Regions from separate parts of the Homo sapiens genome. Here regions 2, 3, 4, 5, 6 and 7 are each linked to region 1. Evidence: promoter capture Hi-C in 16 types of primary human blood cells and fetal thymus (Javierre and others, 2016). All regions are on one chromosome and are shown on one strand. Each heading gives the region's core, a stretch centred on a gene start or on the middle of the fragment in contact. The rest is flanking DNA. Distances are from core to core; before and after follow the strand shown.

Region 1 (3,847 bases), core at 943-3,442:
AGAGAAAGACATGCAATAAACATTAGCTCACTTAGTTGACTGTCCATCAGGAACGCTAACACCCTTCATTGCATGGCAATGCCTGGAAGCTCTCCAAACACAAGCCCCGTGTCAGTTTGGGCTCACTCATGAATCCTCAGTATTTTTGCACAATGCCTAGCTTGTAACAGATGCTCAGAATGAAATTTATTTACCAATAAATGTTATTGATAGCTGATTAAATATAGTATTGTGGTCATCTCAATGACAAGTTGGCCCTTATACTCTTAGACAACTTCCTATTATAACTTTGATTTGACGGAAAAAACAGATTGACTTGATCAGTTCAATGCACTTTCAAGTTTGAGATTTACCTGTACCAGACACACATTGGAGTTGTTCTCTGCTAATTGTAGACACACACAACTTGTGTGTTTCCCCCATTTCCCCCCCTCTTCCTCTTCTTCATTTCTATACTCTGTTTCTACTCTATGAGTCTTTACGGCCAAGATGGTGTTAGGACAGGCAGGATAGGGAAGTCACACAGAAAGATACAGATTGGGTTACGAAAGACAGCTTTTTATCCCTTTCTGTTATTTCCCCCCCACGGTGGCTCTTTTGAAGGCTGGGATGACTTCAGTCCACTATTTGCATGATCTTCCGCTTAAGAGTCCAGGGACAGATGATGTCCTTACATGGTATAATGTTCTGCTTGGCCCTTGTAGTTTCTACTTAGGGACTTCTCTTTCTTTCATCTGCAAATCAAAAGGTCCAACAACACCATCAAAGAATATTAGAAACAAAATAGACCAATGGCTTCATTTAGTAAAGTAGGAACATAGCAAACGTTTTTATTTTTTATTTTTTGCGACAGATTTTCACTCTTTTTGCCCAGGCTGGAGTGCAGTGGTGAGATCCCGGCTCACTGCAACCTCCATCTCTCTGGTTCAAGCGATTCTCCTGCCTCAGCCTCCCAAGTAGCTGGGATTACAGGCATGTGCCACCGTGCCCGGCAAATTTTTTTTTTTTTTTTGTACTTTTAGTAGAGACGGGGTTTCTCCATGTTGGTCAGGCTGGTCTTGAACTCCCGACGTCAGGTGATCCACCCGCCTCGACCTCCCAAAGTGCTGGGATTACAGGCGTGAGCCACCCCGCCTGGCCCATAGCAAAGCTTTATTCACTTAACGAGTCATGGCCAACAGCGTCTGGTTAGCTCACAGAGGCCACAGTTTTATCTGTGGAGTCTGGTAACCACGCCACTCACGACCCTGTACATTGATTAGATGCAGCAGGTCATCTCAAACACACAGCTCTCTCCAACACCCCTTAGAATACAACACTTGGGTGGTGATTTTACTTAACATTCTGGTACTTCATCCCAAAAAGACATCGGTAGAGATTAGTGTAACTCAACAACAGGCAGAAAACATACAAGAAAGTTTAAGACGGATGTCTAGCAGTGCCTGAACTGTTAAGAAGCAAACGTGAGTAAATGCCTTAGTTTCAATAGAAAAAGAAAGTTCACAGTGGGACCTCAGAAGCAGAGGCTGTGAGATCACCTTTCAAGAATTGGAGGAGAATTGCAGTAAGTGATAGAGCCGGACGCTGAGCTGCAGCAGCCTCTGGGAATTGGCGGGGCTGTGGCTTGTCCTGTCCTGCCGCCCCCCGCGTGGCCTCGGAAACTGTCAGATGGTGCCTAAGGCAGAGTTGGGCAAAGAAAGAACCAGCGTTCGTTTCCTCCTGGACTCTCTAGGTCCATGGAGCTGGTGGGGGAACGGCCCTGTCTTGCCCGAGGAGGAAATTCGAGTCGAGCCCCCACTCCTCTCCCCGCGGGACTGATAAACATGTCCCTCATTCGCCCCGGGAGGCTGGCACCCAGGCACGACGCGAGGACGGCCAGACTCGCCGACGGCGGCCGCGTCCCGGGGGGCCGGGAGCGAGCCTGTCGGAAGGTGGGAGGCGGAGTCGCTCGGCATCTGGGAAGAGACCAAAGGAATGAGTCATTGGAAATGCTGTAACGTAGACCCTTATCCCAAACCCTTTCGCCCCTCCACCCCGAGCCCCCTGCCGAGAAGCGAAGGGACTGGAGACGGGGAGACTTGGTGGGGGGAGAGTCACGTTTCGGAGAGGGAAGTGAAATAAAGAGGGCGGCACCCGGGGGGACCTGTGCGTCATTGAGGGACCGGGGAGAAGCGCAGGGCGCACGGGGCTGCAGAAGGAGAAGTAGGAACGAGAAGCCGGAGGGGGCGGCCGCGGAGCACTGGTTGGAGCGCCGCGAAGCGCCCGAGCCTCTTGCCTTCGCGGGCGGCGCCCTGGCCGCCGGCAGCCTTGTGGCCGGTGCCCCGATCCGCCGCGCTCCGGACCCGGGCAGGCGGGGCGCGCCCGCTGCGCGCGGGATGTGGCAGCCCAGACGGCCCTGGCCCCGCGTGCCCTGGCGCTGGGCGCTGGCGCTGCTGGCCCTGGTTGGCGCGGGGCTGTGCCACGCCGGCCCGCAGCCCGGGTATCCCGCGCGGCCCAGCGCCAGGAACAAGTAAGTGCGCGCCCCTTGGCTGGCCCCAAACCGCCTACCCCTCCCCGGCCCCCAGTTGAGCCCCAGAGCTGCCCTGCCAAAGACGACGAGCGGCAGCCGGGGGCCTCCCTTGGACTTCCCCGGGCGGCTCCCTCTGCGGGGGACCGCGCGCTCCGCAGCCGGCGCCTCAGGCAGAGCTGACTCCGGGGGCGTGGGCGCAGAGAGCGTCCCGCAGACCCGGGCGATCCGAAAACGACTCCCAGGAATTCCATGAGCCCCTGGGACCATGGGTGCTTTTCTTTCCCGTCTTGGTCGGGTCCAGGCGCGCGCTCTCCAGAGGCGCACCCGGGCACCCTCCGGCGTCTGCTCGGTGAAGCTCCCGCCTCCGCAGAGGGCGACGGGCCCCCCCGACCCTCGCTCGGTCTGGTGCCGCAGTCCCCTCTCCCCTGGCCTCATTGTTCTCCGGGTTTACCCCGTGCCCCTCTCCCTCTCTCTCCTGCACCCCAGGAACTGGTGCGCCTACATCGTGAACAAGAATGTGAGCTGCTCCGTGCTGGAGGGAAGTGAGAGTTTTATTCAGGCTCAGTACAACTGTGCCTGGAACCAGATGCCCTGTCCGTCGGCGCTGGTGTAAGTCCTGGAGCCGGGGAGCGGGCGGGGCGCGCCCGGGCCGGGGCGGTGGGGGTGGGGTGGGGTTGCTGCGCTGGGCTCCAGTCCCTCCGGTAAATCCCTTCCAGATCCGGTGAAAAGCCCGCAGCGGAAAAGCGCTCCGAGCGCTCGCGGGGCACCGGCCACGCTGGGCTATTTAGGGAGTGGGTGCTGCCCGAGTGAGTGGGGAGGATGCGCGCGCCTCGGGAGTGTGGGGTCGCGGGGGCGTAGGAGAGGATGAACAAAGCTCCCACTCCCACTTCTGTTTTCTCCCTTTCAATGTTTGTTTGTAACATAAGGCAGCTGAATCTAATTGGATCCATATTGTGTGTTCTGGGGCACACAGAAGATTCCAAAATGTATACTGCTAAAGACTATTCCGTATAGGATTCGCTGAGAGGTTTGGCTAAGTAGTGTTCTAAAACGAGTGAGTTCTGTCCGTATGTCCCCATAAAACGGAATCTTCCAGTTTTGTAGATGTCTAAGCTAAAACCTCAGGAACACTTTGCTTAAAAGTGTGGCTCCCCAGCATCCCTCCCCGCAACTTAGATTTGGAGATTCTCTAGAGATTGTGGGAGAGAATGGCCGTTAAAGACAGGGGGAAGAATTAATCATCTTTTTGCTTATAAAGATTTCCCCATCTTAAAAAAAAAAAAAAACAGGAAGCAATGCAATAAAGTACAAATGCCGTTAAATACATGACACTCATTC
Region 2 (3,847 bases), core at 643-3,142, 250 kb after region 1:
TAGTGCATGTATACAAGAGGGGTAAAAACCGGTGTCTGCAAATGAAGGGCTATTATGCAGCATGCTGATAATACCAAAGTGTACCCTCCACCCACCCCCTCAAAATACCTTGAATTCTTGGTGTATGGATATATATTCAAATAAGCTATCTTTCCACACTGCAATTTAGTATCAATACTGGCAAGATAGACTAAGTCGATTTCTATTTTTAGCTTTGTGCATTTCTATTTTTTCTATTTACTCAGCTCCAAATTTCCTTAGGCTCTTTTCTCTGGCAGTTAATGTGCCTCAGCGAAATATGTTATTTGTAGGTTTAAGGCACGTGTTTAGTGGTTTTCAAAATAATTTTGAAAACAGCTTAAAATAGGAGAATTTACTGTGCCAAAGGATAAAGGAATACTATACTCTTTATTACATTCTCTAAGAAATAAGACAGTTTAAAACTTTACAAAATCTCAAGAAAACGACTTCATCAACATGCCAGCATTTACCAACAGGAAGTGGGTATGAATCAAGAAATTGCATGTGCTACTTTGATCCTACCACCAGACCTCTGAAGATATTCACCTTGTGACCTCATTGGTCTGATAGTGGTAGGGGAAAGAAAAGAGCTGGAGTTTTAGTATTGAAAAATGTTGCTTCCTTGGGTTAACCAAAACACCCTTGGGTTGGGGGCTCTGATACTTGCATGTCAGAGTTTGTTATTTTGTGATTTTTATACTCATTTTTTTGTGACAGATTCTCACTCTGTCACCCAGGCTGAAGTGCAGTGGCATGATCACGGCTCACTGCAGCCTCCAACTGCTGGGCTCAAGTGATCCTCCCGCCTCAGTCTCTCGAGGAGCTGCGGCCACACCTGGCTAATTTTTGTATTTTTGTAGAGATAGGGTTTCACCATGTTGACCAGGCTGGTCTTGAACTCCTGGGCTCAAGTGATCCTCCCGCCTTGGCTTTCCTAAGTGCTGGGATTACAGGCATGAGCCACCTTGCCCAGCCGAATGTCAGAGTTTTAATCACATTCTCAGGGTCTCTCTACCAAAATGCGACACTGGGTCTCTAATAAAAGGATAACTGAGTTTGCTGCTACCCTCTCTCGTAGCACCAATAATCAGAGTTCTTGGGCTTATGCAAGATAAAATATCTCAGCATAAATGATAATGACATCAGGCAATGCCTACTGCCCGGACTAATTCTCTCTCCAAGTCCATATGAACACTAAACTCCAGGGAGGCCTGGGCATCTTGAGCTCAAAAGTGACACCCCATCTTCTCTCATCTCCAACCTTTAAGCTGAATGTAAATGTTGTTTGGACTAGTTGTTGTCTAGACACTTAATCAATGTTTATTATCTGACTAGATTAGTAGGTGCTGCTGTTTCTCCCCATTTCTGTCAATGTTCGAGAGTAGAAAGTACAACCATCTTATGTAGCTTGGAGACTTCTGCGTTGGGCAGCAGGTTCAGGGATCACTGGTCTGTTTCAATTAATGTTCATATTTTTCCTGAATAGTTCATGGATTCATCAATACCATATTTATTATCTCTTACAGCATTTATTTTATTTTATTTTTATTTATTTTTATTTTTTGAGATGGAGTCTTGCTCTGTCACCCAGGCTGGAGTGCAGTGGCACGATCTCGGCTCACTGCAACCTTCGCCTCCCGGGTTCAAGCAATTATCCTGCTTCAGCCTCCTGAGTAGCTGGGATTACAGGCGCCCACCACCACACCCAGCTAATTTTTTGTATTTTTAGTAGAGATGGGGTTTCACTATGTTGGTCAGGCTGGTCTTGAACTCCTGACCTCATGATCCACCCACCTTGGCCTCCCAAGGTGCTGGGATTACAGGTGTGAGCCACCACACCCCACCCTCTTACAGCATTTCTATATGGGAGGTGCTATAAACCACTGTGATAGCCATTCCTGGAAAAGAAACCAAGGCACAGAGAAATAAAAGTGAGCTGCCCAGGCGCACAGCTTGAGTCAAAAGTCCAGAACAAAGAGAGTCCAGTCCAAACACTTTGCAATACACTTTAGTACTTTCCATAAACTTTTTCAAAATTAACATTTGAAACCTCACTCATGATATTACTTTTCCAGTTTTATGGTGAATAAGCATACAGATGAGAAATGGCTTGCCTAATGCCACATGGTGGCATAGAGGGTTCTTCCCTAGAATTTAGAAGTCTGCGCCCTACAGTCGTGTCTCATGGGCCCTCCACTCTGCTACTTTGCTGAACAAAGTTGGGTTAGTTTTTGTTTTTAGAGATACGGACTCGCTCTGTTGCCCAGGGTGGAGTGCAGTAGCGTGATCATGGCTCACTGCAGCCTTGAACTCCTGGCCTCAAGTGATCCTCTCGCTCCGGCCTCCCAAAGTGCTGGGAGTACAGGTGTGAACCGCTGTGCCCAGCCAAAGTTGGTTTTGAGAACATTACAGCTGAGGCCAATATCACCAGCACTCAGCCTCACTATCAAACAAGTCACTCCTTGCAGATGTAAGAGAAGGTCCGCAATTCATTCTAGAGCAGTGGTGTGTGTTTTTAAATTACAGTCTCCATTGGGGAATTTACTAAAAGTGAAGGATACTCTTCCTAGAAAAATGCACATATATCAATATACAAAGGCTGTTTGTCCATAGTCTGGAATAGGAATATAGTTTTCTGGGTTCCTGAAACTCCTTTATTAGTGGAGGATTTATATTTTAAGTATTAAAATTTCTGATTTAAAAAGAATGGGTGTATACTATCACTTTCTACTTGTTTTCTCAAACTCCAGGGTGCAACTTTCTGGATGCTTCACTACCTTGGCCAGTGGGTACTAATGGCAAGAGATCCCCCCATCTGGCCAGTGGAACCTTCCAAGGGTCATTTCTGACTTCCTTCTCTTCTCTTAGTGTCAAGTGTGGAATTTAATCTTTTATGTAGAAGGTGCTTTATTGAAGGGTTGTACATTGTTCAGAGGGATTCTTTTTCTGACGAAGGCATGTTTGCCCAATTTTCCAGGAGTTGAAAATGGTAGGCACTGTCTTTATATTGTCTTTATTTAGAGGTATGATTCTGCTTTTAAGTGCCAATCTTACTTAGGAAAAGATTAGTTTGCATAAAGACATATAAGTGAATATATCCAGAAAATATATATGTGATTCCAACATATGTGGGCAAAAAGTGAAGAACTTAATTACTCAGATGTTACACCTGTGTAGCCTGACACTTCGCCATGTAATGGAGCATGGGATATATTTTCTATGTTAGTATCCTTGGTATCTCTGGAGAACAACCGCAAAGGAAAAGGCATCACTTCTAGAAAGCACATCTGTAGCTACTGATGTGTGTTCCATTATATGTTCTCAAGAGTCTCTCTCTTAATCCCATCAGAGCTGTCATCTGATCTATTCCAGAAGTTGCTGCCTAGTAAGACTGCTAAAAACCTGTGAATGTATTGTGGATACTTACTTGGGAACTTGTGTTCATGGCTGAGAGCAAGTAAACGTTTCAATTCTGTAGGGGGAAAAAGAAGGCAGTTAAACCTTAAACTACTAAAATAAAAGTCACTTAAGAATAACTGAGAATTCAAAGCAACATTCGATGTGTGAATGCACTGATTTTAAACTTACCTTCCTCATCTATTAAGTAGCTTGATGCTATTCCATCAGTGTCTGTTACATCGCAAGAGTAAATACCCAAGTCATCCATCCCAAGGTCTTTGAAGGTCATTTTCGTCCTTCGGAACAAAATATTTTTCTTAGAAATGAGGCTGTGTGGGATCTGTGGGCCTGTGTTTCCCCTGAATCTGGGCATTTGTGTATACTACTCCTTTCATCTGGACACCTCCTCTCATCTTGCTGAGCTACA
Region 3 (3,847 bases), core at 634-3,133, 240 kb before region 1:
ACTTAAAACATAATGGCATATGGGATTTTATTTCAGCATAATGAAATGTTTTGGAACTGGAGGTGATGGTTACTGTGTTAAATGCCACTGAATTACACGCTATAATTTTATGTTAAACTTTATGTTTATTTTATGTTGTATGTTTAATTGTATGTTAACGTCATTTTAACCTAAGTATTTCAGTTTAACCATTTTAAAGTGTGAATTTCACCTCAATTTAGAAAAATGACAAGCAATGAAGTGCTGTGTTAAAGTCAGTAGAACAGAATAAACATAAGAAATACAGGCAGAGAATCCTAAGACTAAACAGTTGAAAAGGATTAAGAGAAATTGATACTTCTGGATAACATAGCATAAAAATACAACCTACATATGAATTGTTTTCAAAAAAAATACTGCAGTAAACTAAGTGTACTTGTAAAATGTTTAAATAATAGCAATGAATTTCCAGGATAGATGAGCAAATCTTGAATTTTGCAAGTATTCAAAACCAAAAGCAGGTTATAGTCTACACTTACAGAAATTTGATTAAAAACTAGTTTTGTTTCTGTTTGACAGTATATTAGATTTAAAATGTTATAACTTCAGTTTTTCTCCAAAAGTGACTCCTCCTATCACAGTGTGTAGATGCTTCAGGAGGGATATTTTGTAATTAAATGTTATATGTCACCCACATTCCTATGTATTTTATAGGTACCTCTTAAGGAACTCCTGAATGAAACTGAAGAAGAAATTAATAAAGCCCTAAATAAAAAAATGGGTTTGGAGGATACTTTAGAACAAGTAAGTAATAAAACATAAAAAGTCATAAAAAGTGAAAATTAGATTTTAAAACCTAAAATTAAAAGTTATTTATGGTTTCTGATTGCTAAGGAATTAATTTTTTAACAAAACTATGAAAAAATGAGAATTGGGTATGCTCTCGACAGAAATATTTGAAGTAACTTATTAAGACATTTAAACATCCTAGCCTTCACACATCACATATGATGAAGCGAGATGAAACTAAGTAAATTTTCCTTTTTTTAATAGAGAAGTGTCTCTAACTTGAGATAATTTAATATTTTTATACTAAAAGAGGCTTCAAGTGGCTACCTTGAAAGTAGGCAAGTATAATTACGGCGTTAGAAGCTAATTAGCTGTGATAGATTAAGAGGTTTCTTTTTACCAAGTTTTTGGATTCTGGATCATGGAATTTCAGGAGAACTCAAATTCCTTTCAAAGTCTATTTCCAAAAGTGAATTTCAGGTAGTCTCTGCTTCTGAGATCCTTAATATCACCTATATCCCTGAAAAGGAAAATTCTATTATTGTATTTAGTAACCTTTAAAGTAAACATTGTTAGTTAAGAAAAGTTAAGCTACTTCTCAAATGCACACACAAAGGATTTCATTTATAGGACACCAAGCAGTTAAAGGAAACCCCTTGTTAATTCAGCTCTTCAGGAACTACTGTGATCTGGCTAATAGATTTCAAGATATAAAATGAAATTTTATGTTTTCTCAGAAGAGAAGCTTGTTTATTTTTTCTCAATCTGGAAACAAAACCTATGGCATTTCACAAATAATTATGCTAGTAACCCACAGAAAGACATTTTTCCAATATTAATAAATTCTATCAAGACTTACTTTGTATTAGAATTTTTACATTCTCAGAAAAATAGAAAAATTTGTAACATTAGATAAGTGAAGAGTTTGATCACATCATACTATTATTGCTGTAATTCGCAGTTTCTAAAATATCTATGGAGAAAAGATGAGGAATTTGCTCCCTGGGACTGCTCCCTGGGAATGATGATTATTTGCAGTGAAGTCTTCCTTTAGCCTGCTTCATTTTGATTTCTGTTTTTTGCTGTAATGGGTACTAAAACCTGGAGATTCTCAAAAGGTATGAATTCCAAACAACAGGAACTTCATATCTAAAACATCTTTTAGACTGTCTTGAACTTTTTAAAGGCTATAGATGGGGGAAAGTTATAAAATGGCTACTATAGACTAGGACCCATGTTAGTGTCCTAGAGATAAATACATCCTTCAGGCACTCCCATATAGAGAAAAAGGCTGACATAGGTACAGTTATGCTCATCAGATTTTTAGGTTTACAAAACCCTTTGGGCTACAGGAAAACATGGCTTAGAGGGGATGCAACTGAAAATGTTAGGAGACTTAAACCAATGTATACTAGAACTAGAGGGAAGGAAACAGGTTTAGGAAATGTTAAGGAGGTAGAACCCAAGGATTTCATGGCTGCATGTGCAAGCTTGAGGAGAAAGAAGTATCAACATGACTTCCATATTTTTGATGTGGGCAACTGAGTGAATCATAGTGCTATTAACCTAAAGGAGGAAAACTTAAAGTAGGGTGTGGTGAGATGTTGAGCTTGCTGTCTGTAGGATATCCAGGAGGAAGCAGAAGCTATAGATTCAGAGTGTAAGAAGGAGATCAGGGCTGAAAATACAGATTTGATGGTCATTAGAGCATATGTAATAGTTGAAGCCATATATGTGGATGAATGTGGAGGGGAAAGTGGCAGAGGATTGAATCCTAAAGAGTAACAACATTTAAGGGACCGGCAAAGGAAGGAGATTCTGGGAAAAACTCTTAGAAAAAGTGGACAAAATTAGTTGGAGAACAACAGAAGAGAATATGTTTATACATATATATATATATATATATATACACCTATGTAATATATATAAGCCAAAGTAGGGAAAACTTTTCAAGAAGGGAGAGATCAGTAATGTCATACAGAGACTAACAACTAAAATTGTTTTTCCTATTGGACAAGTAGTTTAAGTTAAGATGGGATGGGGTAAAATGCAACTGGAAATAATAAAGTTTATAAAGAAATTAATAAATTAGAGTAACAAAACATTTAACCTGAAAAGTATTTTAAAATAATTGCCAAAACCATTTAAGAAAAAGCAGGAAAATATAAAATGAGAAATAGTTTATAGAGATGGTGGAAATTTATTTGAATTATGAAGTAATATAGTATAAACAGAAATTTATGTTTAAAATTTTTTGATGAAATGGATTGTAACCTGAACAATAGAAATCCCAAAAAAGTCAAAATATGTAAGTAACCAGAAACCAAAGTGAAAAAGAGAATTTGCTCTTCAAAAGACTCCAATAACGGATAATTTCATAGGTCACTGTTTTCAAATACTGAAGACTGGATGATTTCTGTGACATGTAAATTATCATAGAGCATAAAGAGACCTAATTCATTTATAAGGCTAATGTAGGCCTCATACCACAACATGACAAAGATATTACAAAAAGAAGAAATTAAGCTAATCACACTTATGAATATGAATGTAAATAAAGGTTAAAGTTAAATATTTGAAACTGAAATTTATGCAGCAAATATTTTTTGAGTGCTTATGTGCCTAGTACTGTAATAGATGGTGATACTAGTACAGTGCAGCATCTGCCTTTGTGAACTTCATTTTAAGTGGGAAGATGGGCATGAAAACAATTTCTTCTATCATAGCTTTTTGTAATGTGAATACAGCGCACTGTGGATTCTCATAATACACTTAAGTACAGGCTCCTTCTGAGAGAAGTGATAGCTGGGCTGAGTTGTGAATAACAAGTAGGTGTTGGCCAATGGATACACAGAAGGATGCTCATGTTCATCCACATGCATGCACACACACATACACCTTGAGGACCAGAGACCAAGGAGTACAGCATGGACCGGGCATAGTGGCTCACGCCTGTAATCCTAGCACTTTGGGAGGCCAAGGCGGGTGGATGGCTTGAGCTCAGGAGTTCAGGACCAGCCAGGCAACATGGCAAAACCCAGCCACTACCAAAAATATAAAAATTAGCTGGATGTAGTGG
Region 4 (3,847 bases), core at 1,150-3,649, 210 kb before region 1:
GGATAGAACTGGTGTGACAGGCACGTGGGTGGAATGGCCATGCTACCAGAGATGGAAGCCATGTGTAGGCCCTGTAGCAAGAACTTCCACGCACAAAAACTGATCTAGTTACTGCTACTTGTAAATGTCCATATTCCCCAGCAGTAGGGACCAACACTGAGCCCCAGATACAGCACTGTCCTTTGAGGAAACCAACTGGCTATTTGGTGGCAGGTTGACTCATGAGGCCTCTTCCACTCTTGAAGGACCAGCACTTCATCCTCACAAGGATGGATTACTATTCTGAGTAAGGGTTTGCCTTTTCTGCCTGTAGAGCCCCAACCCTCACCATTACCTGGGGTTCATGGAATGCCTGGTCCACAAACATGGAATTCCATACACATAGCATTTGATTAGTGAAGGAAATACAGGAGTGAACCTATGACCATGGGATCCACTGGTCACATCATGTACTTGCCTTCTAGAATGTTGGAACAGACATCCAAAGGTGCAACTGAAATGCCATCTTCCAGGAAACTCTCTGAAGGAATCATTCCATAGGCTGCAACACGTGTATTAAATCAGAGACTCTTTATGGAGCTGTGTCCCCAGTAGGAAGGATATGTGGGAATGGGAACTGAGGAGTAGAACCAAAGTGGCTCCATTAGCATCACTCTGAATGACCCACTGGGGAATTTGTGCTTCCCATCCCCAAACATTGCCTTTTTTTGGCCAGGCGTGGTGGCTCACACCTGTAATCCCAGCACTTTGGGGGGCCGAGGTGGGAGAATCGTTTGAGCCCAGGAGTTCAAGACCAACCTGGGCAACATAGTGATATCCTGTCTCTACAAAAAATTTAAAAAAAATTATCACACCTGTAATCCCAGCACTTTGGGAGGCCAAGGCAGGTGGATCACAAGGTCAGGAGATCAAGACCATCCTGGCCAACATGGTGAAACCCCGTCTCTACTAACATTACAAAAATTAGCTGGGCATGGTGACGTGCACCTGTAGTCCCAGCTATTCGGGAGGCTGAGGCAGGAGAATCGCTTGAATCCGGGAGGCAGAGGTTGCAGTGAGCCGAGATCGTGCCTCTGCACTCCAGCCTGGCGACAGAGCAAGACTCCGTCTCAAAATTAATTAATTAATTAATTAAATTTAAATAAAATAAATAAGTAAAAATTAGCCAGGTATGACAGTACATGCCTGAGGTCTCATCTACTCCAGAGGATGAGGTAGGAGGATCGCTCGAGCCCAGGAGATTGAGGCTTTGAGGCTGCAGTGAGCCATGATCACACCACTGCACTCCGGCCTGGGTGACAGAGCGAGACCCTGTCTCAAAAAAAAAAAAAATTGTTTTAACTTAACACTTCTGTCTTTCTGTTCTCTATCTTACTAAATGTTTGCTTTTTTCTTTACTAACCCACTCCTTCTGCTTTGCTTCCATTTATTTTGTTGTTTTTCCCCCTAAATTTTGATTACATTCTTAATTCTTTTAAAAAAATAAGTATTTAAACCTATGAATTTTCCTCTGGTTTCTACTTTAGTAGCATATCACATTTTTTATGTGCTGTGTATTCATTTTCTACAGTTTCAGTTAGTGGTTTCTCTCTGCTGTAAGAACTGTTTAAAATAGTTTTGAATTTCCACATAGAAGGAATTCCCACCCCACACAACCCCCAAACTTTATGAATTCCTAGTTGTATTGCATTGTAATCACAGAATGCTGTCTTCACTATTCTGCTTGGACCTTGCTGAGGTTTTTCTTTATGGCCTAATAGTTTTAGTGAGTGTTCGTGGGCAATGGAAAGGAAAGCATATTCAGATTTCAGGATGTATACATTGGCATGTTATCAACCAGATCTATCTTATCAATTACTAAGTTCTTCTGTGATTTATTTATTTTTTATCTACTTGATCACTGACAGTCTGAGAAACAGAAAGGTTAAATATATCTACCCAGTTCTTCTAGCAAATGGCAAACTTCTCTAGTAAATGGCAAAATCCAAATTCAGGCAATCTGACTTCAGTTCTTAACTACTATACCATGCTGGCTTTCATCGGTATTTGTTAGATTTTTCTTCATATGTTGTCACTTGGGGTCAAACCATTCAGGAGAAAGGCAGATCTCCCAGGGAAACAACTTGAAATCAATAAAAAGGATTGTGAGGACATAGGAGTTAGCAAGATACTCAGGAAGTCAGTGATATGGTTTGGCTGTGTCCGCACTCAAGTCTCAACTTGAATTTTCTCTCCCAGAATTCCCACGTGTTGTGGAAGGGACCCAGGGGGAGGTTAATTGAATCATGGGGGCAGGTCTTTCCCGTGCTATTCTCCTGATAGTTAATAAGTCTCACAAGATCTGATGGGTTTATCAGGGGTTTCTGCTTTTGCTTCTTCCTCGTTTTCTCTTGCCACCACCATGTAAGAAGTGCCTTTCACCTCCCACCATGATCCTGAGGCCTCCCCAGCCATGTGGAACTGTAAGTCCAATTAAACCTCTTTTTCTTCCCAGTCTCGGATATGTCTTTATCAGCAGCATGAAAATGGACTAATACAGTAAATTGGTACCAATAGAGTGGGGCAGTGCTGAAAAGATACCCCAAAATGTGGAAGCAACTTTGGAACTGGGTAACAGACAGAAGTTGGAACCATTTGGAGGGCTCAGAAGAAGACAGAAAAATGTGGGAAAGTTTGGAACCTCCTAGAGACTTGTTGAATAGCTTTGATAAAAATGCCGATAGCGATATGGACAATAAGGTCCAGGCTGAGGTGGTCTCAGGTGGAGATGAGGAACTTGTTGGGAACTGGAGTGAAGGTGACTCTTGTTATGTTCTAGCAAAGAGACTGGCAGCATTTTGCCCCTGCCCTAGAGATTTGTGGAACTTTGAACTTAAGAAAGATGATTTATGATATCTGGCAGAAGAAATTTCTAAGCAGCAAAGCATTCAAGAGGTGACTTGAGTTCTGTTAAAGGCATTAAGTTTTATAAGGGAAGCAGAGCATAAAAGTTTGGAAAATTTGCAGCCTGACTATGCAATAGAAAAGAAAAACCCATTTTCTGGGGAAAAATGCAAGCCGGCTGCAGAAATTTGCGTAAGTAGTAAGGAGCCTAATGTTAATCCCTAAGACCATGGGGAAAATGTCTCCAGGCCATGTCAGAGAACTTCACGGCAGCCTCCCCCATCGTAGGCCCAGAGGCCCAAGAGGAAAAAGTGGTTTCGTGGGCTGGGTCCAGGGCCCACCTGCAGTGTGCAGTCTAGGGACTTGGTGCCCTGTTCCCAGCCACTCCAGCCATGGCTGAAAGGGGCCAACGTACAGCTTGGGCTGTGGCTTCAGAGGGTGGAAGTCCCACACCTTGGCAGCTTCTGCGTGGTGTTGAGCCTGCAGGTACACAGAAGTCAGGAATTGAGGTTTGGGAATCTCTGCCTAGATTATAGAAGATGTATGGAAACACCTGGATACCCAGGCATAGCATAGCCATAGCAAAGGCAGAAGTTTGCTACAGGGGTGGGGCCCTCATGGAGAACCTCTGCTAGGGCAATGCAGAAGGGAAATGTGGTGTCGGAGCCCCCACACAGAGTCCCTACTGAGGAACTGCCTAGTGGAGCTGTGAGAAGAGGGCCACCATCCTCCAGACCCCAGAATGGTAGATCCACCGACAGCTTGCACCATGCACCTGGAAAAGCTGCAGACACTCAACACTAGCCCATGAAAGCAGGTGGGAGGGAGGCTGTACCCTGCAAAGCCACAGGGGCAGAGCTGCCTAAGAGCATGGGAACCCACCTCTTGCATCAGTATGACCTGGATGTAAGACCTGGAGTCAAAGGAGATCATTTTGGAGCTTTAAAATTTGACCGCTTCCCGG
Region 5 (3,847 bases), core at 740-3,239, 220 kb after region 1:
GGGTGGCTTTTGTGTGATACCATGGGCACTAGTAACGCCTCAGGCTGAAGTCCCGGCCTGATAGGTTATGCCCTTAACCTTCTAAAACCAGAAACGAGAGGAAAGAAACCACAGAAGGAAACTGTAGAAACTCAACCCCAGGGGAGGCGAGCATTACCTTCATAATTTATTGCAAACAGTGCCTATTTTGTTTCCAAAGTGTTTTAAATTAAACTTAGTTGTGTATCATTTGGAATGTAAATATTCATCCTCAAAAGTGAGTAGCAGGGAGTATGGACTGTCTGAGTAACCACAGTGTGTGTGTCTGAGCTTTGTGACAAGTCTACTATGCCTTCTTGATGCTGGGCTACAATTAAAGCATGTTCTAAAAAAAGTAAAAAATGCACTTAGATGTTAGTAAGTATGAGCTAAGTAATTTTGGAAACTTTGGTGTGCATTTTAGAGATTGAGATTTTCATTTACATATATCAGTTGATTCTTCAGAAGCAATTTAAATAACTTAAGACTGTTTTTTAAACATAATCTTATCTCTAAAGCCCAAGGTAGAGGTCAAAATGCAAATATTTGAGGCTGTGATGTGATGGTCACTATGTATCCAGTTTGTAATCCTCCATATAACTGATGTATTAGTATTTTATCTAAACATCTTGCTGTGGGTATGTGAAGCAGGCCCACAGAACAGAACTAATGAACACCTGAGACCGTGCCAGTGTGTTCATTTAAAATGCGCTGCACCTTGTTCTGACACTCGATTTGTTGTAGATATTTGATCCTCTTGAGGCTTGCTTTTAAGCTCTGTTAGGGTGGGGCCAGAGGAGTTTTTAATCCAGGATTAATTTCTCACCTTAGTAGTGCCCCACTATGGAGGAGAAACTTCTGAGGACTCTACCCGAGGCCCACGTATTACAAAGTCTTTTCATTCCGGCTGGTGGACACGGACTCTGTTTCCAGCCCGCGTGAGCTCCAAGAATTGCTTGGCCTGAGGCTTTCCAGATTTCTTTCTCCCGTGCATTTGCTGAATAGTACTCAGCCAAAGAGCATGTGCAGCCTCCAGCACCCTGTCTTCGTGCAACTCTCCTCTCTCTCTTATTCTTTCTCATACATTTTAGACGACCCCGCCTCATTGAACCTCAGTCTCTGTCCCCTCAATTCAATGAGACTGACAGGCTCCCCCTGCTGGGCTGCAGCCTGAGCACTCTGTCTAGGCAAGAAGAAGCTGGAGCAATCACAGGTGTCTCATCACTTTCCCCTTCTCTCAGGCATCTTGGGCCTGCACATCTGCTGGCCAATGCCCTAAACGGTTATTTTTCCATATGTTTTGATATTTTGCCTGTTTTTCTAGTTGTTCATGGTGGGAGGACAATTTCCATAACAGTAATCCTTTGTGGGCAGACAGAGAATCCCGTCTAGCGTAGTTTTGCATTTGCTTCCCTGAGGCCCCGGACCTCGACCATTTTTATGGGAATTCTTGGCTTGAGATTGTTACCATGTGGTGCTGTAAATTTGCACCCCACAAACATGCAGTACTAGTTTGAGGAATCCATTAAATTTTCTTCCATCCAGAACCGCCCCCAGGCAGATGGAAAGCTTCTGTATAGCTTCTCTATGTCAGTTGGTGATATTTTTACTATTCCCATTTTTGTTTTGACTAAGCCACTCTTTGTGCATCTCAGATTTGTGCAGGCATCTTGGGTACCAACTCACTACCTTGAACAATCCAGGTCTACATCTCTCATTCTGGCATGTGTATTAAAACTCCAGTCCCAGATCTTAGAGGCTATATCTAGGCAAAAATTAGTATTTCTGCATTATGTAGGCTGTGCATATTTGATTTTCATGTACTTGAAATGTCTTAGCCTAGTGACTAAGTCCAATTTTTTTTTTTTTTTTTTGACAGAGTATCACTCTGTCTTCCAGGCTGGAGTGCAGTGGTGCAATCACAGCTCACTGCAGCCTTGACCTCCCAGGCTCAAGCGATCCTCCTGCTTCAGCCTCCCGAGTAGCTGGAACTACAGGCTCGTGCCACCACCCCCAGCTAATTTTGGATTTTTTGTAGAGATGGGCTTTCACCATGTTCTCCAGGCTAGTCTCAAACTCCTGGGCTCGAGTGATCCTCCTGCCTGGGCTTCCCAAAGTGCTGGGATTACAGGTGTAAGCCACTGCACCCAGCCTCCAGCTTTGTGATTCCAATGTAAAATGTTTAATTGACTGTGATTTTATGTTCATCTTACTAGGTTTATATACAATATGAGAATATTTATGAAAACTCCAAATTTTCTGTATTTATATACTTAGTTTAGTAGATAAAGTTATTTAAGTTCTTGAGACAGTTTTGTTTAAGTCAGACAATAGTAGTCCTTAAAGTGGAGAGAAAATATATTAATTTATAAATAAAGCTTAACAAATTAAAGGGAATTAAGTTATGCTATAAAAAGCAGCCTTAAACTTAATGTTCTTCAATAGTCAGATTTTTAAATGGAAAAATAATGTTTTAAAGTTGAACTTCAAGAATTTAGGAAGATCTAGGTTTTAAAATGTGTCACTTGACTATTATATATATATATATATATTAATTTTTTTATTTTTTTAATTTTTTTGTGATGGAGTTTCGCTCTTGTTGCCCAGGCTGGAGTGCAATGGTGAGATCTCGGCTCGCCACAACCTCCGCCTCCTGGGTTCAAGCAATTCTCCTGCCTCAGCCTCCTGAGTAGCTGGGATTACAGGCATGTGCCACCACGCCCGGCTAGTTTTGTATTTTTAGTAGAGATGGAGTTTCTCCATGCTGGCCAGGCTGGTCTCAAACTCCCGACCTCAGGTGATCCGCCCGCCTCGGCCTCCCGAAGTGCTGGGATTACAGGCGTGAGCCACTGCACCCCAGCCTATATATTAATTTTATAAAACTGAAGTAAACTCTGAATGGTCTTTTCTGTGTTCCAAGTTGATCCTTTAAGTACCACTACTTCACATTTACCAGGTCACAGATTCATAAATTTTTATGTGTTACAAAGTATCTTCGGCACCATTAAAGTGATGGATCTATAGTTTCAGTTCTATTTTCCCCTGTAGAAATAGCAGCTTTTTACCTAAGCTATTAAATCTTGAGGTCACTGGTTTAGTTTGGTCATAATAATGGCTGAAATAATTCTTATAGCTGTTTTGTTGAGCAATCTCAGCGTATGGAGCTCCGAACACAAAAGCCATCTCCCCAACTCACTGCTGCTGTGTCCCAGCAAACCCCTCTGCTGGGCGCAGGGGTCTTAGGGCACACTTTGATTTCATACATTTTTGCACAATTTCAGAATTTGGAATACACTGTTTTAAAATTTTGTTTCCACCTGATTCAACACCCGTCTTGCTTTCTCCCCAGTCTGGGATCCAGCAGGTGGAAATTAGGGAAGGGGTGGGAGGTGCTGCTTGCAGAAACCTCACCTCTCTGACACTGGGAGCTCTGTTGCTGGCTTTTTGAGGGGTGTGGTGGGGGCTTTTCGGAGAGTCTTAGGGGCCTCTCGCTTGCACAGCCCTTGGCCCTTGGCATGGGAGGTCTGCCGCCGCTTGAACCTTTCCCACCCCCACCCCCACCCCGCCACCCTCCCATCTTTAGCTCCCCAGCAGGTGTCCACCCACTGGCAGTTTCCTTCCGGGTCAGCTTGTTCAGATGTAGCCCTCTTACTGAGGCAGGCAGAACCGCAGACTGCTCATGGCCAGCCACCTTCCATGGGGTCCGCTTGACCCTTGGGAAGCTCATCTCCTTGCCATATCTGGGAGTGAGAACACAGCATCTGGCTCCTGCCTGGTGTTCAGTGTCATAGCAGCAGCATCCAGCACTTGTTTGGACAAGTGGATTGGC
Region 6 (3,847 bases), core at 818-3,317, 180 kb before region 1:
AGAAATTTTCTTATGAAAACCTTCAGACACAAAGAGAGAATCATGTTATGAACCCCAGTGTACTCATCCAGATTCAAGTTAATAGGAATTTACCACACTAGGATCATTTTTGTTTTTGTAATGTATTTAAGGCATATTCTAGGTCTTAGGTCATTTCACCCCATATACTTCAGCCTGAATATGTATTATCAAACCATTAAAATAAAGCATTTTTAATATTGTCTAATGTCCCTGTCCATATTGAGTTCTCTGAATGTTTAAAAGTATCTTTTTATAGTTGGTTTGTTTAAATCAGGATCTGACATAGTCCTCACATTAAATTTGTTTTTTTTTTGTTTCCTAATTATTTTCAATTTAAAGCATTTGAGCAAATTCCTCCTCCACCAGTCTCTTTAGTTTTCCTGCAGTTGACCTCTTGAAGAAATCAACTAGGTCTTTAATATTCCACATTATGGATTTGTTTGTGCTCTTTTTTGGTGTTACTTAATTTGTTTTATCTCCGTATGTATTCTGTAAACTAAAAGTTAGCTTTAAAGGCTTGATTTGATTTAGGTTCAACTTCTTTGGGGTCAGGAGGCAAAGAATGCTTTGTAGGTAGTACTGATACTTCATATGGCATTACACTGGGAGGCACGTGATGTGTGGGTGTTTCACCCACTCATAGCAATGCTAACATTAAAATCTTGGGATTCACGTGATTTCAGCAGGATTCCTCCATAAGGAAGTTTTGATCTGACTTGCCATTCCTCCTGTGTTTATTAGCTGGAATTCTTTAAGGAACAACTTTGCCTCATCAGCCAGAGCTATTTTGGTTATCCTGAAGTACCATTGATACAAGAAAAGCAGTGTAAATAATTTGTTCTTTCCCTTTAATTTGTCAGTGTTCAGAGTGACAAGTTGGTGCCCTAGCTCATCCCAGTGGTGAGCAATAATGGTTTTTATTAATATCATTTTTGAAGATTTGAGTATCACTAGTCTAGATTTTTTAGATGTTTTCAATAAGAATGTTAATCTTTAGACTAGTCCATTACTACCCGAAACAGAAGCCTTTTCTCTTAACTATATATTGCTGTATTGTTTCATTTTAGACAGAGCATGTATGTTTTAATTCTAATGTAAATGAAAATGTTAACCACTTTTCTAATTCTCATTTTTTGATTAATGTGATTTTACAGTTCATGTGTTCATTGGTCATTTGTATTTTCTCCTTTTCATTTTTTTGTGTTTTTACTTTTTCTCTTTGTTGATCCTTGTCACCCTTTTGTTTCTTGTTGCAATTTCCCTCTAATTTTTTTTTTTCTTTGAGACGGAGTCTCATTCTGTTGCTCAGGCTGGAGTGCAGTGGTGTGATCTTGGCTCACTGCAACCTCCGCCTCCCCAGTTCAAGTGATTCTCCTGCCTTGGCCTCCTGAGTAGCTGGGATTACAGGTGTGCGCCACCACACCTGGCTAATTTTTGTATTTTTAGTAGAGACAGGGTTTCACCATGTTGGTCGGGCTGGTCTTGAACTCCTGACCTTGTGATCCGACGGCCTCAGCCTCCCAAAGTGCTGGGATGACAGGCATGAGCTACCATGCCTGGCCAGTTTCCCTCTAATTTATAATTTGCTTTAATTTTTAAAGTTATTCGTTTGAATGGACCTGTATGTCTTACAAAGCATGGCTGTTCTTCCCTCCGTGCTATAAAATGCTAACTTCTGTTTTCTTCTATTTTGTTTTTGCATACTTAAATATCTAGTCTATATGAACATGAGTTATGTTAAAGCTTTGTTCCAAATAAGTTGATAACTTGTACGTTAGTATGAAATACTATGTCTTTTGTCTGGGTGGGTCCTGCTGATGATGTTAAAATGCTTTTAAAACGTTCCACCTAATCACTAGTGTTCCTAGGTTGCTTATAGTAGCAGAAAAAATGACCTTGTTAAGTAAGTAATTTATATAGATTTATGCACTATTAATTATGCAAAGGCAAAATTTAGATATACTGAGTTTTGTATTTCCTAGATAAGTGTAGTGGTTACAGAATTATAATGTACTATCAATATTTTCATATTTTTATAAATTTGAATAATACATTTATTTCCTTTGTGTAATAAGTGATTTTATTTCTTATTTTGGATAGACACTTGGCATTTCACCTGAAGAAAAATTTGTTATTACAACAACAAGTAGGAAAGAAATTACCTGTGATAATTTTGGTAGGTAAACAGTGTTACTAAGTTGATGCTTTTATATTTAATAAGGTTTAGTACATATATAGCAATAACTTTTATTAGATATGCATCTAAATCTGTTGATGACTTTTGTTAATTTGTTGGGATGAGGGAGGAAACTGGCTGCATGTGCATAGTCTGCACAGAGGTTATATTTTTCAAGCTTGATTATAGAAAAATAGTTGATATCAGTTATGGCTACAGAAGATGATTCTGCCTAGCACAAATCTTCTGAAGCTAATTTTGCTAACCAACTTGGATTATTCCATTATCTTTTTTTAACCTAATTAGTTTTCCAAGACCTGCTGGTTTTTCATGCCTGATTCCATCTGAATTTAACCATTCTCCATTCATGTTGACACTACGCTATTTTAGATTCTCGTCTGATTTCCTGTGATAGTTTAACTTATTAAGAATTGAGTGTTTCAAATGAATGGAAGGAAGTATTTGTGCTTGTTTCATTAATATCCTTAACATGACTTTGCTTACAGGTAGATGATTGGGGGTTTTTCTTTACCATCATTAAAGATATTTCATAGATAGAATTTGTATATTCACAATTATAAGTTCATTGAGTTTCTGATGCTGACCTAGCACTTATGATTTTCACTCTTGATTACAGATGAAACTGTTAAAGATGGAGTCACCTTATACCTGCTACAGTCGGTCAATCAGTTACTACTGACAGCTACGAAAGAACGAATTGACTTCTTACCTCACTATGACACACTGGTTAAAAGTGGCATGTATGAATATTATGCCAGTGAAGGACAAAATCCTTTGCGTAAGTATCCCATTCATACTAATTTTGATAAATTATTACCTGCCTTTATCCCCTGATTACGTATCCCATTCCTTCACTTTTTGTAAATCTTCTTATTACACTTTATTAGAAGACCACTCATTTTCTTTCTTACTCAAATTCATCACGGTATTATTATGTCTTCTACCTGTGTCATCTTCAGTGAAAAAAAACTCTCCTTTAAAGCTAACCTACTAGTAGAACTTTTCTTTTCAACTCATAAGGGGTCTTGACCTATACAGCTTTCCATCGCCTGTATACTCTCTTCTCCTGATTTCCTAGCCTCCCATAGACCTTTCCCAATTAAGAAAATACTTGTTTTACTTTGCAAATACATATAGCTAGGTTGCGTAAGTAAGAAGTTTGTGTTCATATTTCCATGTCTTTATCATTTCTTTCTACCTTTACTACTTGCTAGTTTCTGTCCTTTCTCTGGACCATTTGCTAGTGATCTTTACAAATCAATTAGTTTACTGAATCCTCTCTTTCAGGACTTGCCAAAGTGTCTAATACTACTTACATGTTCATCGTAAACTTTTGTATTAAAATTATTTTTTTCTCATTATATGTGTATTTGCAGGAAATTAGAAAACATAGATAAGCAAATAGAACATAAAGAATATCTCTACTACCCAGACATAACCACCACTAACACTTTGGTGTTTATCATTTCAGACCTTTTCATATTATTTGATTTTTAATGGTTTTATATGGTGCATACTTCTTTAACCTACATTTTGTTTAAAAATAAAGTGAACATCTTTTAATATATATGTCTCTGTATATTTTGATAATATTTAGGTAATATAATTTATTTGAACAGTATTCTTTTT
Region 7 (3,847 bases), core at 678-3,177, 170 kb after region 1:
CTGGCCTCTGACCCACCACCTTCCAGCTCCAAGGTGAGGAACCTCACTCCACTAATTGTCCCCTCTTCCTCAATTCTGGCTTCATTCCTGCACTTGAAAAAGAAGCTTTTGTGGCCCCTCCGTTCCCCCTCAGGCTGTCGACTTATCACACAGCTTCTCTTCCCACCCAAGCTACCTGAAAGAGTTTCAGGTTTTCTCCCATCTTCACAGGGTTGCTCCTCCTCTAACCCTGAAACTGCTCAGGCTAAAGTCACTATGACCTTCTGGTTGCCGAAGAAAACAGACCCCTTTCCTGTCCCATGCCTCATGATCTCTGCAGGGCAAGATGCTGTTGATCATTATTTCCTTCTTGAAACTCTCTCCTCCCCTCATTAGTGGGAACTCCTCTGAATTCTACATGCCTGTGCTCAGTGGCTTTCAACGTCTCAACCAGCAAGGTCCACAGTGATGTCAGATTCAAACCCATTATTTGTGCTTCTTCAAACCTGCTCCACCTGAATCTCCTATCCTGGCTGATGGCGCTGTCATCTGTTTAGACATACTTGCCAGAAACCTAGGAGGGAGTCTCATTTCCCTCTACTCCCATGCTGTTTCCATCACTCCTCCTCATTATTCCTCCTCATGATTCCTACTCTTGGTCCTCTGTCGCACCACTCACCCCTGCTTGTGATTAGGCCCTCGCCATTTCTCTTGTGGTCCATTGTAGGAATATGCCAGCTGGTCTCCCTACCCTCTAGTCCTGCCCAATTCTAAGCATCCTCTACTCTGAATTGCAGACCTGGCCATGGCACAGGTGGTTGGCAACCCATTGTCTTGACGAAGCAAGCCAAGTTCCCTAGCGTGGCATCCAGTGTGCTCCTTTTCTCTCTAATTTTCTCTCCTGCTCCTTCTAGTCTGTATGCTTCAGCCATTCCATCATCCCTTTTGCAACAGGATTTTTTTTTTTTTTTTGGAGACAGGGTCTCACTCTGTTGTTCAGGCCAAAGTGAAGTGGTGTGATCACGGTTCACTGCAACCTCAAACTCCTGGGCTCAATCGAGCCTCCCACCTTAGCCACCCAAAGTACTGGAATTACAGGCTTGAGCCACAGTAGCTGGTAAGAATAATTTTTCATATATTAACTTCTGTGTTTTTCCTTAGAGTTCTCTCTTTCTTCTTCTCCTTATAAGAATGCACCCAGGCATTCTGCTTGTCTCAGGAGGTTGTTGGCAGAGTGGAAAGCAGAAGTTGTCTGCAAGACATTTCCTTCCTGTCTTTTATTTCCAAAACACTATGCTCAGTGAGGAACCTGTCTCAGTCAAGGGGGAGAGGGCCAGGGAGAAGGCATATCTTTGAGGGAATCTGGAAAGCAGAGAAGGATTTTCTCTAGAATAAGAATCAAGTATCCCCGACCTGGAGTTGGAAGGAGGTGGTCCTATGCCCTCCTGTCTGGCAGCTCCCAGGGGAGGTGATTCAACCTTAGAAAAATAGCTTTGTTATTCCCAGCTTCTGCATCTCTTTCTCTGTGAGGACAGAGAATAGCTAGCATTTTCTGTACCATCACTGTGTGCCCAGCTCTTCTAGTAATTCAACTTCTATCATTAACACCAGTTTACAGAGGAAGGAACTACGGCACAGAGATGTTGGGTAACTTGCCTCAGATCTCACAACTCGTCAGCAGTGTTGATAGAATTTGCCTCCAGCCCTCCTTGACTCCTAAACCCATATTTTTTTCTTCTCTTTCTAAAAAAGTTATTATTTAGCCATCAAATGAATGAACCAAAACTATTTTTTTTAATTTATTTTTAGTAGAGATGGGGTTTTGCCATGTTGCCCAGGCTGGTCTCGAAATACTGGCCTCAAATGATCCGCCCACCTCAGCCTCCCAAAGTGCTGGGATTACAGGCATGAGCCACCAGGCCCAGCATAAACCTGTATTTTTAACTACCTCCCACCACCTTCCCTCAATTGCCCTACTGCCCTACCCCAGTCGATGTATTTTTTCTTATGCCTCTAGTCCACCTTGCACAGATCACAATTATAGTACTTATTATACACATAGTAGGTGCTGAGTAAATACGTGATGAAAAATAAGTGAAGATTTCTATTTCATCTGATAGGCTCAGCTGGGTGTCTAGACCAACTTTCCCTCACTGAAAACAAAAACAAAAATACTGGGCAAAATAATAAAAATATATTCTGGAAGGCATCTATAAACTGGCAAGAAATTAAGAAATTGCCCCAGGACAGGGTGAAGGTCAGAACCCAGAGAGGTAAGCCGAGCCCAAAGTCAGCATATGCCTGGAGGATTTTTGCTGAATCTAGTGAGTTTGAACGTTGATTTTTGAAGCCTTGGGAGTTTTGTGCAGCAGAAGTAAAGGTTAGCATGTACTTTAAGTAGGGAGATTAATAGAAGACCCAATAAATACAGAATTGCAAAAGCAAAATAGTAGAATAAGAAAAAAAATTACTTCTCAAGCCGACCCAGAAACCTCACTAAAGCTGGTAACATATGAACATATAAAACACATATAGGCCGGGTGCAGTGGCTCACACCTGTAATCCCAGCACTTTGGGAGGCCGAGACAGGCCGATCACTTGAGGTCAGGAGTTCGAGGCTAGCCTGGCCAACATGGTGAAACCCGTCTCTACTAAAAACACAAAAATTAGCCAGGTGTGGTGGCGCACAACTGTAGTCCCAGCTACTCAGGAGGCTGAGGTAGGAGAATCACTTGAACCCAAGACACAGAGGCAGTGAGCCAAGATGGGGCCACTGCACTCCAGCCTGAGCAACAGAGCTAGACTTCATCTCAAAAACTAAATAAATAAATAAATAAAATAAATAAAGCAAGTCTTAACAAATCTGAAAATTTTGAATGCATTGGCCAGACGCAGTGGCTCACAACTGTAATCCCAGCACTTCAGGAAACCAAATCAGGAAGATAGCTTGAGCTTGGGAGGATTGCTTGAGCTCAGGAGTTTGAGACCAGCCTGAGCAACATAGAGAGACCTCATCTCTACTAAAAATGTAATAAATTAGCTGGCTGTGGTAGCGTGTGCCTGTAGTCCCAGCTACTCGGGAAGATGAGGTGGGAGGATTGATTGAGCCTAAGAGGTCAAGGTCGCAGTGAGCCCAGATTGTACCACTGCACTCCAGCCTGGGCAATAGAGCACGACCCTGTCTCAAGAAGAATGAAAGAGAGAGAGAAAAGAAAGAAAGGAAAATGTTTATCATACAGACTATATCCTCTGAACACAATGCAATTAAGACAAGAATCGGCCGGGCCCAGTGGCTCACGCCTGTAATCCCAGCACTTTGGGAGGCCGAGGCGGGCAGATCACGAGGTCAGGAGATCGAGACTATCCTGGCTAACACGGTGAAATCTCGTCTCTACTAAAAATACCAAAAAAAAAAAAAATTAGCCGGGCATGGTGGCAGGCGCCTGTAGTCCCGCTACTTGGGAGGCTGAGGCAGAAGAATGGTGTGAACCCAGGAGGCAGAGCTTGCAGTGAGCCGAGATTGCGCCACTGCACTTCAGCCTGGGCAACAGAGCGAGACTCCGTCTTAAAAAAAAAAAAAAAAAAAAGACAAGAATCAATTTTTTTAAGAAGTAACTAGAAAAACCTATTTGTTTGGAAATTCATGAGCCAATGAACAGCACTATGGGAATGTGACAACATTTAAATGCTATATATCAAATATTTGATACTATGTATGAAAATATGAGGGATAAAACTGAGCAAGTTGTTAAGGGGAAACTTATAGACTAAAAGCTTATATTACAAGAGAAAATTGTTTGAAATGTAAAGAGCTAAAAAGTTAAAAAAGAACAGGAAATTAAAGTCATATAGAAGAAAGGAAATAATA

Evidence for each region. Contacts are between HindIII fragments. The CHiCAGO score rates a contact against its expected background, and 5 or more counts as called.
Region 2: a contact is called between a fragment that was not itself captured here and the fragment with the promoter of EMILIN2 in region 1, in 1 of 17 cell types (activated CD4 T cells). The highest score is 5.7, in activated CD4 T cells.
Region 3: a fragment that was not itself captured here is called in contact with the fragment with the promoter of EMILIN2 in region 1 in 1 of 17 cell types (monocytes); the score reaches 6.7 in monocytes.
Region 4: a contact is called between a fragment that was not itself captured here and the fragment with the promoter of EMILIN2 in region 1, in 1 of 17 cell types (monocytes). The highest score is 8.1, in monocytes.
Region 5: a contact is called between a fragment that was not itself captured here and the fragment with the promoter of EMILIN2 in region 1, in 1 of 17 cell types (monocytes). The highest score is 5.0, in monocytes.
Region 6: a contact is called between a fragment that was not itself captured here and the fragment with the promoter of EMILIN2 in region 1, in 3 of 17 cell types (monocytes, M1 macrophages and M2 macrophages). The highest score is 12.3, in monocytes.
Region 7: a contact is called between a fragment that was not itself captured here and the fragment with the promoter of EMILIN2 in region 1, in 1 of 17 cell types (monocytes). The highest score is 5.9, in monocytes.

Annotation. Positions count from the first base shown.
Region 1 is chr18:2,844,814-2,848,660 of GRCh38, forward strand. EMILIN2 (elastin microfibril interfacer 2) reads left to right here and starts at 2,193. Exons shown (of 8, transcript NM_032048.3): 1 at 2,193-2,509; 2 at 2,996-3,118. The coding sequence starts at 2,376. RefSeq lists silencers at 2,411-2,460, 3,081-3,170. The HindIII fragment of the contact is 11,570 bases long and covers 1,149-3,847 here.
Region 2 is chr18:3,096,711-3,100,557 of GRCh38, forward strand. It overlaps MYOM1 (myomesin 1), which reads right to left. Exons shown (of 38, transcript NM_003803.4): 24 at 3,610-3,716; 25 at 3,449-3,493. Among named protein-coding and RNA genes, the nearest start is that of LPIN2, 85 kb to the left of the region's middle. The HindIII fragment of the contact is 5,489 bases long and covers 1-3,847 here.
Region 3 is chr18:2,600,703-2,604,549 of GRCh38, forward strand. It overlaps NDC80 (NDC80 kinetochore complex component), which reads left to right. Exons shown (of 17, transcript NM_006101.3): 13 at 694-783. Among named protein-coding and RNA genes, the nearest start is that of NDC80, 31 kb to the left of the region's middle. The HindIII fragment of the contact is 745 bases long and covers 1,512-2,256 here.
Region 4 is chr18:2,629,837-2,633,683 of GRCh38, forward strand. No RefSeq gene overlaps it. Among named protein-coding and RNA genes, the nearest start is that of SMCHD1, 24 kb to the right of the region's middle. The HindIII fragment of the contact is 9,719 bases long and covers 1-3,847 here.
Region 5 is chr18:3,061,984-3,065,830 of GRCh38, forward strand. No RefSeq gene overlaps it. Among named protein-coding and RNA genes, the nearest start is that of LPIN2, 51 kb to the left of the region's middle. The HindIII fragment of the contact is 809 bases long and covers 1,586-2,394 here.
Region 6 is chr18:2,664,036-2,667,882 of GRCh38, forward strand. It overlaps SMCHD1 (structural maintenance of chromosomes flexible hinge domain containing 1), which reads left to right. Exons shown (of 48, transcript NM_015295.3): 2 at 2,122-2,197; 3 at 2,835-2,996. Among named protein-coding and RNA genes, the nearest start is that of SMCHD1, 10 kb to the left of the region's middle. The HindIII fragment of the contact is 611 bases long and covers 1,763-2,373 here.
Region 7 is chr18:3,015,529-3,019,375 of GRCh38, forward strand. No RefSeq gene overlaps it. Among named protein-coding and RNA genes, the nearest start is that of LPIN2, 4.3 kb to the left of the region's middle. The HindIII fragment of the contact is 3,648 bases long and covers 104-3,751 here.